Linked DNA regions of Homo sapiens: region 1 is linked to region 2. Evidence: promoter capture Hi-C in human tissues and cell types (Jung and others, 2019). All regions are on one chromosome and are shown on one strand. The core of a region is centred on a gene start or on the middle of the fragment in contact, and the rest is flanking DNA. Distances in the headings are between cores, read along the strand shown.

Region 1 (7,900 bases), core at 2,845-5,344, 120 kb before region 2:
TAGCAGCATGGAGCCACTGCTGTTTTCAGCCTTCGGCAGCATTGCGGCTTCATCATGCTGAACTCCACAAGGTTCCAAAGAATTGATTCACAGCAATGGAAATAGCAAATGTCCCAGCCAAACTCCCCTCCTTGCACCATCTAAGCCCTGAACATTGGTGTTCCTGAAATGCTATTTCTATCCACTTTCCCTCACTCAATCTTGTTGTTCTTGGGAATGTAAAATGACTAGCAAATCTGATTTACTGCAAATTCTTTTAAAAGAGAACCATTTCACACCCAAAGGAAAGAATTGCAAGGCCCATTCTGCAGCAAGTATTTGGCCTGTTTCTTTCAAATCCACAGTGGCTCAGCCACGGCTAAAATATTATTAAAACAAAACAGCTCACATGCTTATAGGCAAATCATATTTTGGCATGATTAGTTCAAAAGCAAAGATGCCAGAGAGATCCAATGGCTTTTTTGTAGAAAAGTCAAGCATTAGTCTATCAACATCTTTGAAGAAAAATTTTCAGATACTGAGAAGCTTATAAATGGATTCATACAAATAAAGTATATTTCTTCCAAAAACTCAAAAGATTTTATAAAATTTTAGCACGGATCCAAAGAAATGGGTCATTTTCCTTCATAGCTACCAATAGGAATGACTATGAAGTGATCCATCATAGATTAAAGTATACATTATTGTTTACAACAGTCATCCTACAGTGGTACAGAACACTAGGATTTATTCCTCCTATCTAGCTGTAATTTTATAACCTTTAACACATCTCTCCCTATCCCTCCCTACCTTCTACCCCTCCCAGCCTCTAGTTATCCTCTGTTCTACTTTTGAATATATTCTTTTTTAATTTTTAATTTAATATTTTAAATTGATAAATAATAATTGTATATATTCTGGAGTACCTAATGATGTTTTGAGACAAATAATGTATGGTGCTCATGAGGATCAGGGGATTTTGCATATCCATCACCTCAAAGATTCATCCTTTCTTTGTGTTAAAAACACTCAATATCCTCTTTCTAGCTCTTGAAACTATCTAATTAATACATTATTGTTTACAACAGTCATCCTACAGTGGTACAGAACACTAGAATTTATTCCTCCTATCTAGCTGTAATTTTATAACCTTTAACAATTCTCTCCTTATCCCTCCCTTTTCTCTACTCTACCCAGCCTCTAGTATCCTCTGTTCTACTTTTTACTTCCGTGACATCAACCATTTTCTAGTTTCCACATATAAATGAGAAGATGTGGCGTTCAGCTTTCCATTCTTGGCTTATTTCACTTAACATAATGTTATCCAGGCTCATCTTTGTTGCTGCAAAAGACAGGATTTCATTCTTTGTATGGCTGAATAGTATTCCATGGCATATATATTCATATTTTCTTTATCCATTTACCTGTTGTAGGACACCTAGGTTGATTCCATATCTTGGCTATTGTGAATAGTGCTGCAATAAACATAGAGGTGCAGATGTTTCTTCAATATACTGATTTCCTTTCCTTTGGATAAGTTTCCAATAGTGAGATGGCTGGATCATATGGTAGTCCCATTTGTAGTTTTTTTAGGGACCTTCATATTGTTCTTCATAGTGGCTGTACTAGTTTGCATTCCCGCCAACAGTGGATAAGAGTTCCCTCTTCTTTGCATCCTTGCCAAAGTTTGCAATTATTTTTGGTCTTTTTGATAAAGAGAAGGTCGAAAGTGTACATAATATCCCCAAATGCTACAACTTACATTTGGCTCATAGATTTAGTCAACAGATGAGAAAAACATCCAAATAACTCCCTAGAAAATAAGCACATCCAGAATCTGAAAACAAGTTATCCCTGCTTATGTCAGGATTGACTTATACTTAACCTGCTTTTGTATTGTAATAACCTAGCCTGACATAGCAATTATGTGCACACCCCTTTTCTCTGGAGATATGTGTAACTTACTGTGGGGTAAATGTGAGCCCATATTAATTTAAATAGATAATTTTAAAACACTGTTTAACAGTGACACTACTTTGAGCCAAAGAAAACAAAAGAATCTACCATTTAAAATATGTAGTCTTACCTTAAAATTAGTACCACCAGTAATTAACTTTATCAGTGATATTAACATACCACATCATGTGCCTCTAGATACAGTGCACTGGGAAGGACACAACAGCATTTAGATAGTACTATGGCTAAAAAACTCCAGGTTATTTAAACCTAGATCCAATGATGAGGAAATCACAGATAAACTCAAATTAACAGAAATTCTACAAATAAATGACCTGTACTCTGCAAAATTGCCAAACATGAAAGGCAAAAAAAAAAAAAAAAAAAAAAATGGATCACTTGATCCAGAATAAAGGAAATGAAAAAGACATGAAAACTAAATGCAATATGTGATCCTGGACTGGCTCTTTGACCAGAAAAATAAATTGCTATACAGGACATTACTGAGACAGTTGGCAAAATTCTCATAAAGACTATATATTAGACAATACTAATATATCAACATAAAACTTCCTGATTTTGATCATTGTACATAGTTACATAAGCCAAGTGTCCTTGTTCCTAGGAAATATACACTTCAAGTATTTAGGAGTAAAGGGCGATGTACTCTCAAGTGGTCCAGAAAAAATATATAATTATATGTGTAGGAGGAGAGGAAAAAAAGAAAAAGAATGTGCAAATGTAGCAAAATGTTAACAACTGGTGGATCAGAGCAGAGCGTATTTGAAAGTCCTTTGCATTATTCTTGCAACACTTCTATAAATTTTAAATTCTTTCAAAACAAAAAATAATCCATTTTAAAAATCGTAGCAACATCATCATTCCAGGCCAAAATCCTGTTATTACTTTATTAACAAAGCACCACTGTGCACAAAAAACTAGAAAATTTTTAAAAAAAAATGAAATCACCCATAATCCTCCTCCCTGTTCTCCAGGTATCACCTGTCTACAGGTTTCTTCCCCTGTCTCTAAGTCACGTGTCTCTTGCACCCTCTGCTCCAGGCCTCCATCATCTCTTGACTGGAGACTTGGGTTCTCCAGTTTTTCTTGTCCCCTTTCCATCTGATCTCGGCAGATGTGTGCCCCTCGTGCTTGGCACTTGGTAGGGGCTCAACAAACATTCGTTGAATTAATGAGTGAATGAATCACAGTAAAAACATTCTGTCATTTGCTTTTTTGGGTAAAGCAAATTGAAATGATGTTGTACACATTCACATTTTTTTAAAAAAACAGAAGTAGAGATTTGGGCAAAATGCATTCTAAAGTGCCTGCCTGAATATTTTAGCATTTGCAAAACATCCAAATGTTTAATCTCAGTTAAACTACTTCTACTGTAGCTCATCCCTAGAGTAACTAACAAGTGCCCCTGACTTTATCTTTATGCCCCCTTTTCCACACCATCTTCAGCTGGCTGCCCACATTCTACTGTACACTGTGTTTCTCTGCCTGGGCATTATAAATCAGGTGGCTATATCCAAATCTCTCAAATCAGATTAGATTGGGTTCTGCCTTCTGGTTGAACTAGAGCCTCCTGGGCCTCACTGAAATTGTGGGCCTCACTGAAATGGAAATCTGCAGGCATTTCCATAACCTGCAGGGTTGGGCACCTGATAGTAAGCATGACTCCATCACTAACCAGCTGTAGGCCTTTCTAAATTTTTAAATCTTTCCTGTTCTCAATTTTCAATAGAGTAAAAGGGAGGTGAGATTAAATAATTTTTAAAATCACCTTTAGTTCTGAAACATTATGATTCTATTATTCTAACGCTAGGAAAAGTAGAAATCAGATAACAGAAAATCAGGAGTGGAAAATTTTTTAAACTCAACAGAATGTAAGTATGATGATCATGATTTATTTTAGGGTTTGGATGCAGAGGACAAAAGAACAGGACTCCCTTCACACAAACTGGTGGAATAGAATTAAGGTAATTACAGACTGGTAGTTGCTGAAGACGATAAATGACTTAATAAAACAGTTGACCACGACTCTTAACAGCTATGGTTAAATGACACATGCCCAAATGCTATAATTAAATTCCTCTGTAACCAAATTCTGGCAGTGAGTAAGCTTTTCTTCCTTTATACTTTCAAAGGCTTGGGAAATTAAGTACAGTCAGTTTTTTAGATTACTATATCAATGGTTCTCAAAGCATGGTCTACGAATCTATTTGACGGATTAGAATAGAGATCAGAGCACTTCAGAGTGAGACAGGAAGGGTTGATGAACAAGTCCCACTTGAGAAAAGTAAAGGCCAGACTAGTTAAGTGGCTTGTCAAAGGTCACACAAAATGACACAACAGACTCACTTCCTGAATGTCTGATTGGGTATATCACCACCATGCATCTCATCCATAAAACACTTCTAACCAGTCATTCATGAGCTGGTATCTGGTGCTGTTATTGAAGTCATGGGCATATTTCACTTCTGACATTGATTCACACACTTCATCCTTGTTCACATCTCTGGGACTGCCTGTAAGCTTAGGTAGGTCTTGTACAATGAGATTCTTTGCAGTCCTGGAGTCATTGCACCACGCTGAAATGGGGGCCAAGATGGATATCCCCTGCCTCCCTGATGTGCGTCCTTCTCTAAACTGCCTGGTGAATACAATCTCAGACAACTCTTCAGGCACAAGCATTCCATTCAACTGTTTTTGCAATGGTAGTAGGAGAACAAGGCTACATATTTATTCTTCTGGGGGCTATATTTCCACCAGAGTGCATTCTGGAAATTTGGACAGTTAGAAAGCCATTGCATCACAGCACCTTGTACATGTTTTGAATTCAAACTAATATGTTAAATTAAAAAGCCAGTTCTTTTCTATAGACATTCAGCATGCCTCTTTTCTAGATTTGCCCAGATAGACAAGATGGAATTAAGAGGTACTCTCATGATGGAAGATAATTTTCTTCATTGTAACTATTGGCAAGAATAAAGATCACCTTTGCTATCTGACATGGTGATAGTAGTTTCCACTTTACCATGTGGTGGAGAAGAATGAGCACATGATCAGGCCTGTGCCAGCCTTGCAGTAAGCCACCTTCAGCACCTGGCTAATCCCTTTACCCTGCCAAAGCTAGATGAGAACTAAGGTTTTGCAGGTCCCCCCGCTCTGTGTAAAGACTCCTCTCTTCAAAGCCTTGGGATCCAGAGAGACAGCAAAAGAATCAGTCACAGAGCCCCTTGCAGTATTTTCTCACAAAAACCATATGAGGTTTTTTTAAATCAGGTCCAAAGCATCCTTAGGACAAAAAGAATGTGATTTTCTGAATCTCGTGGTCTCAGGCTTCTGCACCATCAGTAAGCCTTTCATAATCATTGGGAAGCTTCCATACATGTGGCTCCAGCCTTTCCAGGTCTCTCAAGCTCTTCTGTCATTCATAACAGTCCCATGAAACGAAAGTGATTCCTTGTCAATTCAAAAGTTTGAGCATTCCTGAGCAGGAAATTTGGATTTGGGAGGATATAATATCTAAGTCCCTTTTTCTAGAGAATTGAGACCTGTAACTTAATTTGTGAGATCATTCAAGGAAGGGGAAGTGATCAAATCGTGGGGTTCCACTCCCCTTTTTTGGGAATCAGACTGTATGAATCTGTATCCCTATTCATTGTTGTTGGTTTTATTCACATAAAGAAAATGTTCTTTTCTTCATCTTTCTGGTGGATGGAGAAGAAAAAGAATTTCCAAAAAATGCAAAATTAGCAATAGGCCCACTTATAGGTGTGTTTCTCAAGTTCCCACTATCAATGTTTCCCTAAAAATTAATAGCCAATAATTCATATTAAATGTTCCCAAATTATTAAAAAGCATATCCTCTCGAGAGAAATGTATTTACAAAGAAGTCTTACAGATAAAGTTCTAAAGAACATATTCATAATCAAAAACCACCAAACACAAACTAGAACAGGACACCACTGCATGCAAACCACATGAAACAATAGGCAAGAGAATAAGATCTGCAGAAATATTAAAAACTGGGAACTTCATACATGGAATCACATATATATGTGTGATTAATAGATTTAAATTAAAGATCTACATGATGTTCTACCTACAGCAGTGATCCCCAACCTTTTTGGCACAGGAATCGGTTTCATGAAAGAAAATTTTTCCATGGACCAGGGTAGGGGATGGTTTTAGGATGATCCAAGCACATTATATTTATTGTGAACTTTATTTATATTATTATTACATTATAATATATAATGAAATAATTATACAACTCACCATTATGTAGAATCAGTGGGAGCCCTGACCTTGTTTACCTGCAACCAGACGGTCTCATCTGGGGGTGATGGGAGACAGTGACAGATCATCAGCCATTAGATTTTTATAAGGAGCATGCAACCTAGATCCCTCACATACACAGCACTCCTATGAGACTCTAATGCCACCTCTGATCTGACAGGAGATGGAGCTCAGGCAGTAATGCAAGTGATGGAGAGCAGCTGTAAATATAGATGAAGCTTTGCTCACTCGCCCTCTGCTCACATCCTGCTGTGTGGCCCAGTTTCCAGCAAGCCACGGACCGGTACCAGTTCGTGGCACAGGGATTGAGGACCCCTGATCTACAGGATTAAACATATGAATAAAGAATGGGAGATTATGAAATAAGCAAGAATATCAAGCAAAGAATCAAAGAAAACTTCTAGTAGTTAAAATGTGGAATAATTACAAGTAATAATTAAATGGACAATTTAAAAAGCAGATTAGCCACAGATGAGGAAAAAAGCAAATTGGAAGGTAGAGTTGAAGAAATACCAAGACTGCATCTGTTGAAGAAATACCAAGACTACATCTCAGAGACATAAGGAATAGGGAAATATGAGAAGTTAAAACACTTGAGGATAGAGAACTTTCTACATTTCTAGAAGCAAAATAAAGACTGAATAAGGGATGCACAATATGTTAAAGGATAACGATGAAGTTTAATTTTTAAAAATTAATGTAAGATACAAATTTTTAAATTCAAGAAGCCTAAAGAAATACATACCTAGACAAATCAACAAGAAACTAAAAACACAAAATACAAAAAAAAAGAGTCTAAATATATCCCAAGAAATAATACAGGCTACCTATAAAGGAATAACAGCTAGACAGACAGATTTCTCCTAAACAAGAAGAGAAAAATTATGAAACTATTGTATAACAACTTCACAGTACCAAAACAATAACAAAAACAAAAAGACCCTCAACCTAGAATGATTTATCCAGAATAAGCAGCTTATAAAGAGGAGGACCCCAAAAAAGGATAATTTTGTATAGGTAAAAATGAAGATAATTTCTAAAAATTATATTATAACTAAATAAAATTATAATTAAAATTCCTTAGAAATATGAAAGATAGAAGAAATTATCATGTTTAAGTACATTCATTTTGTTTTTAAAAAGTAGATATTAATGTCTTATTAAAATATAGAGTTAACAAGATTAATTAAAAACTTAAACATAAGACCTGAAATCATAAAATCCTAGAAGAAAACCTAGGAAAATCTTTCTGGACGTTAGCCCAAGCAAAGAAGGTATAATGAAGACCCCAAAAGCAAATGCAACAAAGACAAAAATAGAGAAATGGGACGTAATTAAGGACTCTGCACGGCATAAGAAATAATCAACAGAGTAAACAGACAACCTACAGAATGAGAGAAAATATTTGCAGGTTGGGTGCGATAGCTCATGTCTGAAATCCCAGAACTTTGGGAGGCCAAGACAGGTGGATCGCTTGAGGTCAGGAGGTTGAGACCAACCTGGCCAACATGGTGAAACCCCATATTTACTAAAAATACAAAAATTAGCTGGGCCTGGTGGCATGCACCTATAATCCCAGCTACTCCGGGGGCTGAGGCAGGAGAATCGCTTGAACTTGGGAGGAGGAGGTTGCAGTGAGCCGACATCACACCAC
Region 2 (7,890 bases), core at 4,229-6,728:
TGTGTCAAAAGAACAAAACAGGGCCCCCCATTGGCCAAAGTGTGTCAATTTGAGCAGCAAAAATAATAATTATTGCAGTTGATTAAATCACATTGAATCTATGAGAGGCCACGAGTCCATAATGATACGCATGAGAAAATTTTGCTTAAAATTGAGTAAAGATGGTGAATTGAATAGAGTATATTACTTTTGGATCCTTTATTCAAACATCCTATTATTTTGACACATTTATCAGTGAAAAATACAGAATTTAGTAAATATTAAATACAAAGTTAGAAAGCATTTTCTGAGGCGGGGCGTGGTAGCTCATGCCTGTAATCTCAGCACTTTGGGAGGCCGAAGTGGGAGGAAAGCTTGAGCACAGGGAGGTGGAGGCTGTAGTGAACTGTGATCGCGCCACTCCACTCCAGCCTAGAAGACAGAGTGTGAGACGCTGTCTCAAAAAACAAACAAAACAAAACAAAAACAAGCAAGCAAACATAGTCTGGCTTGAGGGAAGATGCCAGTATGTGATCATAAATTGGACAAAATCATTCAAGACAGCCGCATTTTAATCAGATCAAATTTCAAAATTTCAAATATCTATAAGCATTTTATGTTCTTAAAAACATGAGAAACTTGCAAGATATCATTAAATTCAAAGGTTTCCAAAACCAGTTTGAAACACATTTGTATGTCTTAAAACCTTTTGTGAAGTTTAGCTGTATTTAGACAAGTAAAATTTTATTTACGTATCTCCAGAGTCAAAATACAAAACCCAAGCGATCAGGGCAAAGTGGAAGCAACCAACCCCAACCTCCCCGCATGGAAACAGATAGTGTGCGCTGGTCACATCCAGGGACGTGCTCCATGCAATCCACAAACTAAGATCTGCCCCGACCATATTATATGGACCATATAAAAATTAAAGTAGCTGTATATGTACTTTACTGACATAGAAACAAGTCTATGTTATATTGCTAAGTATAAAATTCAAATTTTAGAATGTCAATAGTATAATCCCACTGAAGTAAAAAAAAATTGATATGTTTTTCAAGTTTGAGTCTATAATCTTTGTATGGGAATTTTTAGTAAAGCGTATATATTCATCTACAGCTTAACTTTTTAGTCTTAAAAAAGGCAAAAGTGAAATTTCGACGATGAAATCCACGGTTGTAACCAGCAATACCACACTTGCACGGTTGCAATACTCGCGCTCTTCGCACTGTAACCTCTGGAATCCACTGTAACCTCTCGAATCCGCTGTCACCCGAGATCTCTTAACCTGGCGGTCCCCTGCCAGGACTCGGGCGGCCGTCAAGAGTGCGCAGGCGCAAGCGCGGCCGCCGTCGGTGGGGTTTTATGTGCTGTTGAGACTGCTGTTGAGCTTCTGGGCCTTTTTAAGACTGCCTTCCAAAAGACGACGTGATGACTCTAAAGAGAAAGGAAAATTTGTTGCGTACGCAGAAGGGCAGGCTGGGCGCACTCTGAGCGTCTTTCGGGGACCGACGGCCTCGCCCACGTGCTTCCGGGCACCAGCGCGCCCAAAGCCCGTGCACTAGGAAACGCACAAAAGCACCAGCGGGCGAGCCCGAGGGCGAGCCCACGGGTAGCCAGGAGGCGGCGAGGGCGGCTTGTCTTCCAGAGACTGGGGAATCAAGAAAGGCAGAGCCACCTCCTCGGCCCCAGCGCAGCAAGTGCAGGAGGCAGGGAGGGCGCAGCGCCCCGCCGTCCACGGTACCCGTGGAACCCGGTGCGCGCCCCGGGAGCTGGGGCGGCTCAGGCCCAGCGTGCCCAGAAAGCCAACCACGTTGGTCAGGAGGACGTTCTCCCACTATCCGCGATCCTCAGGCTCTGATTAAAGTCAAATTAAAAGGAGCTATCCGTTCCGGTATCTGTTGTTACTCTTGTGATAAATATGGTGTTTGATACGAAAGTATCTTAATAGTCATGCTGCCAATCAAAGAACAAAACACGTAAAGCCTGTGCGCTAAGAACACGAGAGCATTTCGCTCCTCAGGAGGTGCAGTTTATCTTGTCTCCTTTGTTTCATATATAATTCCAAGGAGAATTCCTTGTTATCAACACATTTTGCTCTTTGCCTTTGGGGGATGACATAGGCATATTGCATTTGATCAGATTAGTGTTAACCTTCCACCCACGTTTTTACTACATGCTGTACCATTAATACAGCAGGATTTTATACCTTTAACCGCAAAATTCAAGAGCAGAAAAATACTCAAATTGTATGTTAGTTTAACATGAAAACGAGTTATTTCAGCCCTGATAGGATACTTTTAAACCAATACTACCTAACAAATATGTTTCTTATTCGTATAAGCCCATACACATGGTTTTTTAAATGAGTTTTATAAATAATAATTAGCATTGAGGCCCTGATCTAAGTATTTGAAACTCTGTTACTCTTCACAACAATCCTGAGATGGGCATATTTTCCTCATTTTGCAGATAAGGAAACAGGCACTGGGATGGTAAGAAACCCAGGCCATCTGGCCCCTAATAGCCTTTTACCACCATGCTAAAGCTTTACCCATTTTTGAGATCCAAAATATTACATAGTGCACACATATTTGGTAACCAAATCAGGATTAAACATTAAAGTTAAGGGCCAAGCACAGTGCCCTGTAATCCTAGCATTTTGGGAAGCTGAGGCGGGCAGATCGCTTGACCTCAGGAGTTCAAGACCAGCCTGGAAAACATGGTGAAACCCCATCTCAACAAAAAAATACAAAAATAGTTGGGTGTGGTGGTGTGTGCCTGTGGTCCCAGCTACTTGGGAGGCTGAGGTGGGAGGATCGCTTGAGCCAAGGAGGCAGAGGTTGCAGTGAACCAAGATCACACCACTGCACTCCAGCCTGGGTGACATAGTGAGACGCTGTCTCAAAAAGAAAAAAGCAAAATTAAAGTAAGAACATAATAAGAAATATGTTTGGCACTGTGTTACGGGGAGAAAAAATCAATAGGGAGATAAATCCTGCTTTCAGGGTAAGTGCAATTTGCTGAGTAAAAGAAATATTTTAAGATACCTTAAAAAAGAAAACAAAGGCTGTTGTAAATTGGATATTCAATTAAATATTCTTGGGCAGATTGGCAGATGATAGATCTAATGAACTTGGGGTTTATAAATACACAGAATGCCACATTTTCACTAATACCTTATGTTTTGGGTAAAGAGTAAAACCAACTTTGAAAATGAATTGTGTATGCAATTATCTTAAAAATAAAGATTATATAATAAGTCACATTATCTTGCATTATGTGTAATATCTAGGGGGTTAAGGCACTCTCATTCTGCTAATATTCACAGCACTCCTATTATATAACCATTTCAGAGCCCTGAATTATAATCCTAACTAGGTGACAGTTACTGAGTAAATTTTGCAATGTAGATTTATTATAGAATATAATTGTATTACTTTTTCTCTATTCATTGGCATCCTTTTATATTTGGGGTTTGACACAATTGCACACAACAATCTTTCTACTAAAATATTCCATAGAGTTGGCCAGGCATGGTGGCTCACGCCTGTAATCCTAGCACTTTGGGAGGCTGAGGCAGGTGGATCACCTGGGGTCAGGAGTTTGAGACCAGCCTGGCCAACATGGTGAAACCCCATCTCTACTAAAAATACAAAAGTTAGCTGGGCATGGTGGCATGCGCCTGTAATCCCAGCTACTCGGGAGGCTGAGGCGGGAGAATCGCTTGAACCCAGGTGGCGGAGGTTGCAGTGAGCGGAGATCGTGCCATTGCACTCCAGCCTGGGCAACAAGAGCGAAACTCTGTCTCAAAAAAAAAAAAAAGATTGAGGCTCAAGCAGGTTAAATATTATACACACACTAGATCACATACTAAGCCACACAGGTTGTATAGAATAGAAATCCTATTCCAGGGCTTCACAGACCTCAAATTGTTTCTGTAAATGGTTCATGTTTATTAATTTACCTTCTCAAAGTCAATATACTTCAAAAACAGAACTGCTATCATTAAAATGTGGTTACACATAACCTAACACATAAGTGCTTTAGAAGAAGGGAACTTTACCATTTGATTTTTTAAAATATAGATCCTAACACTTTTGTGTGTGTGTGTTTTCTCATGAATATGGTAATATTATTGGTCCTTTTTCCAAAGATATGGTATGAAATTAATTTTTTGCTTAGAGTCAGGATCTTGCTCCATCATCCAGCCTGGTGTGCAGTGGCACGATCATAGCTCACTATAGCCTCAAACTCCTCAGTTCAAGTCTCCTCCCGCCCCAGCCTCCAAAGTAGCTAGGACTATAGGAGTGCACCACCACACTCAGCTAACTTTATTATTATTTTTTGTAGAGGCAGGTCTCAAATTCTTGGCCTCAAGTGGCCCTTCCACCTTAGCCTCCCAAAGCACTGGTATTATAGGCATAACTCACTGCACTTGGTAGAAAATTAATTTTCATTATAAAAATCAGAAAGAAAGATCTTATTGTCTGATGGCCAATACCCTGAATTTCATTCCAACTTCTGGTTTTCTACATTATATGTAGGTACCAGTGATTTTGTGCCATTTTTATTTCTTCAGATTTTTCCTCTTCTACAATTCTCCCATATGTGTTATTATTTGAAGCCCTGATCACAGCTCTGAATCATTTCTATTCTTTTGTCTCCCCCAACTCTGGTTCAAAACTTCGGTAACTCATTTGCTACGAAGTCTAGAATCTCTCTTGCAAGTGAGCTGACCGGTTGGGCCAAATCGCCTTGGAAGGGAAGGATTGTTAGGAAGTCAGTATGTTGCTAAGATGTCTTGCTAATTTGCTGTGTAAGCTGCATAGAGTGTCAGGGGATTCTCCTTTCCACTGATGAATTTAGGTGTGTGTTATGACCTGTATCAGTGATTCTATTTGGATTGATTAAGGTTGCAATTTTTTATCCATATGAATGTTGCACCTAGTTTTTCCCTGTAATTGGTTAAACAAATGTCTGCTGTTTGCATTTTAACTCTTAGCCAATACCTGCTGGAAGTGATTTAATGCAGCTGGAGAATGACACTAACAATCATTACAGCCTGCAAAGTGTGAAACAATTTCATTGTGCTTTGTGGTCTCTTTAGTCTGAGGACTGATAATGTGCAGCGGATGAGACTTGAAAAAAACGTATTTTATTATAATTTAAGAAATAATGTAAAAGAGGGGTGAGTTCTGAGGCAGCTCCATGCTGTTTGTCTGGCATGAGCTTGTTTTTATAAGAATTCACTTCAAGTGTGGAAGGGAAATGCTTTCATCTGAAAGGGATAGCTGTGCTTCATTCCGGTTTCTCCCTCCATCTGATAAAAACTCTTGCTGAGTGACAGCACAGATGTAGCTCATTTGGAACAAGTGAAGGAAAAGGAGAAAAGGGATGAGGTGGAGCGAAGGAGTAGTCAGTCATGTTTCCAAAGTCCCGCGGTTTCCCCTAGTCTCTTCATTCACTCCAGCGGCCCTGGTGTCCCCCTGCAAAGTGCGATGCCCTCGCCCCTGGCCCTACGCCCCTACCTCCGGAGCGAGTTTTCCCCATCGGTGGACGCGCGGCCCTGCAGCAGTCCCTCAGAGCTACCTGCGAAGCTGCTTCTGGGGGCCACTCTTCCTCGGGCCCCGCGGCTGCCGCGCCGGCTGGCCTGGTGCTCCATTGACTGGGAGCAGGTGTGCTTGCTGCAGAGGCTGGGAGCTGGAGGGTTTGGCTCGGTGTACAAGGCGACTTACCGCGGTGTTCCTGTGGCCATAAAGCAAGTGAACAAGTGCACCAAGAACCGACTAGCATCTCGGCGGAGTTTCTGGGCTGAGCTCAACGTAGCAAGGCTGCGCCACGATAACATCGTGCGCGTGGTGGCTGCCAGCACGCGCACGCCCGCAGGGTCCAATAGCCTAGGGACCATCATCATGGAGTTCGGTGGCAACGTCACTTTACACCAAGTCATCTATGGCGCCGCCGGCCACCCTGAGGGGGACGCAGGGGAGCCTCACTGCCGCACTGGAGGACAGTTAAGTTTGGGAAAGTGTCTCAAGTACTCACTAGATGTTGTGAACGGCCTGCTCTTCCTCCACTCGCAAAGCATTGTGCACTTGGACCTGAAGCCCGCGAACATCTTGATCAGTGAGCAGGATGTCTGTAAAATTAGTGACTTCGGTTGCTCTGAGAAGTTGGAAGATCTGCTGTGCTTCCAGACACCCTCTTACCCTCTAGGAGGCACATACACCCACCGCGCCCCGGAGCTCCTGAAAGGAGAGGGCGTGACGCCTAAAGCCGACATTTATTCCTTTGCCATCACTCTCTGGCAAATGACTACCAAGCAGGCGCCGTATTCGGGGGAGCGGCAGCACATACTGTACGCGGTGGTGGCCTACGACCTGCGCCCGTCCCTCTCCGCTGCCGTCTTCGAGGACTCGCTCCCCGGGCAGCGCCTTGGGGACGTCATCCAGCGCTGCTGGAGACCCAGCGCGGCGCAGAGGCCGAGCGCGCGGCTGCTTTTGGTGGATCTCACCTCTTTGAAAGCTGAACTCGGCTGACTGAAAACCTGGTCAAGATAAGTTTTTGTCTGATTCTATTTGTTTTTAAAGGAAGTGGAGATGTCGAAGAAAACATATTTGTAGGATGGAGTTTTAGAAAATAAAGTTACTAAAAACTCCTTTAGTCTCCAGTGCTTTTTCTAGGACACATTAGCAAAGCTACAAGTCTAGTACCTGTTGTCTCAGTACTGTTAGTAACTAATCTTATTCATATAGTCATGTGCTTTGCTTTCCATTGCTAGTATTTCATTTATTTAAATTTGTTATTGATAAAAGTTTGTCCAAAATAGAACTCCACTGCAGAAATGTCAAAATTTTCTATAAATCCATATATATCCCATACCTACCACATAAATTCCAACTATTAATGGTGTAGTTGCTCCCACACCAAATCAGTAAAAACTTTTAAAAAAATAAGTAATGCTTTCCTACTACTCCCCCCAGTAAAACTTCTTGTTTGTAATGACCTTCACTCATAAAAGTCATACACTGAGGTACATTTACATTCAAAGGAATTATATCATAAATGACTTATTGTAATATCTTTAACTTGTGCATTGCAATGAGTAGAAACATTTTGCTAAAACACTTCTAAACTGGGTCATTTTTACCTGGTATTGGGACTCAGAAGTAGAAGATAAAGATTATATGATGTGAGAGGAAAATGTAGGAGTAGAAGGTAAAGATTATATGATGTCAGGAATCATGAAATTTAACATTTGGATGGAAGAGAACAGACAAATAGAACTAGATTGCCCACTCTAGACATCAAAACAATGGATGTTGGTACATAGGATTTAAAGGAGAAGGTGATTGGATTTTGTCATTGGGACAGCTTTGACTTTCTTTTAGCAATAGCAGTTTCTGTGCATGGTGGAAAGCAAGGCTGATGCAATGGCTGGCAGAGGGAATGGCAAGGCCCTGAAGCAGAGGCTGTGCATGCACTGTTAAGGAGGGAGAGGCAGGAAGCTTAAAAGGGGGTCAGAGACACAGAAATGTTTTCAGATTTTTTATCTGGTATCATTTAGTTTTAGGTTGAAAGAAATAATTTTATTTGTAAAATGAGCCACCAGAGGCAAAGATAATTGATAAAGTTTAGATACTTGTAGAAGGGATGAAGCATAGTACCTAGGGGAAGAGATTGTCATCTTGGAGAGAAAGGGCATCTCTTCCCAGGATGGGAGCCAAGGGTGGGGGCACACTGGTATTATAGACACATTTACCCTAGGAAAAAGGGGACTGGGGAAGCACACATCTGTGAACTTCTATTTTTTTTCTGTTAAGAGTGGTTGAGGGTAGGGGAGTCTACAGAGTGAGAACATGGTTTGAAACTGTTCTTCAGAAAAGCAAAAGGGAGCTGTCTGTGGCCATG

The links. Contacts are between HindIII fragments. The study calls those that stand out against the background at their distance.
Region 1: a fragment that was not itself captured here is called in contact with the fragment with the promoter of MOS in region 2 in 2 of the 25 tissues and cell types used here (heart left ventricle and hippocampus).

The regions. Positions count from the first base shown.
Region 1 is chr8:56,234,204-56,242,103 of GRCh38, reverse strand. No RefSeq gene overlaps it. Among named protein-coding and RNA genes, the nearest start is that of CHCHD7, 26 kb to the right of the region's middle. The HindIII fragment of the contact is 3,600 bases long and covers 2,295-5,894 here.
Region 2 is chr8:56,111,570-56,119,459 of GRCh38, reverse strand. MOS (MOS proto-oncogene, serine/threonine kinase) reads left to right here and starts at 5,478. Exons shown (of 1, transcript NM_005372.1): 1 at 5,478-6,518. The coding sequence starts at 5,478. The coding sequence ends at 6,518. RefSeq lists enhancers at 1,391-1,891, 5,599-6,099. The HindIII fragment of the contact is 8,406 bases long and covers 1,440-7,890 here.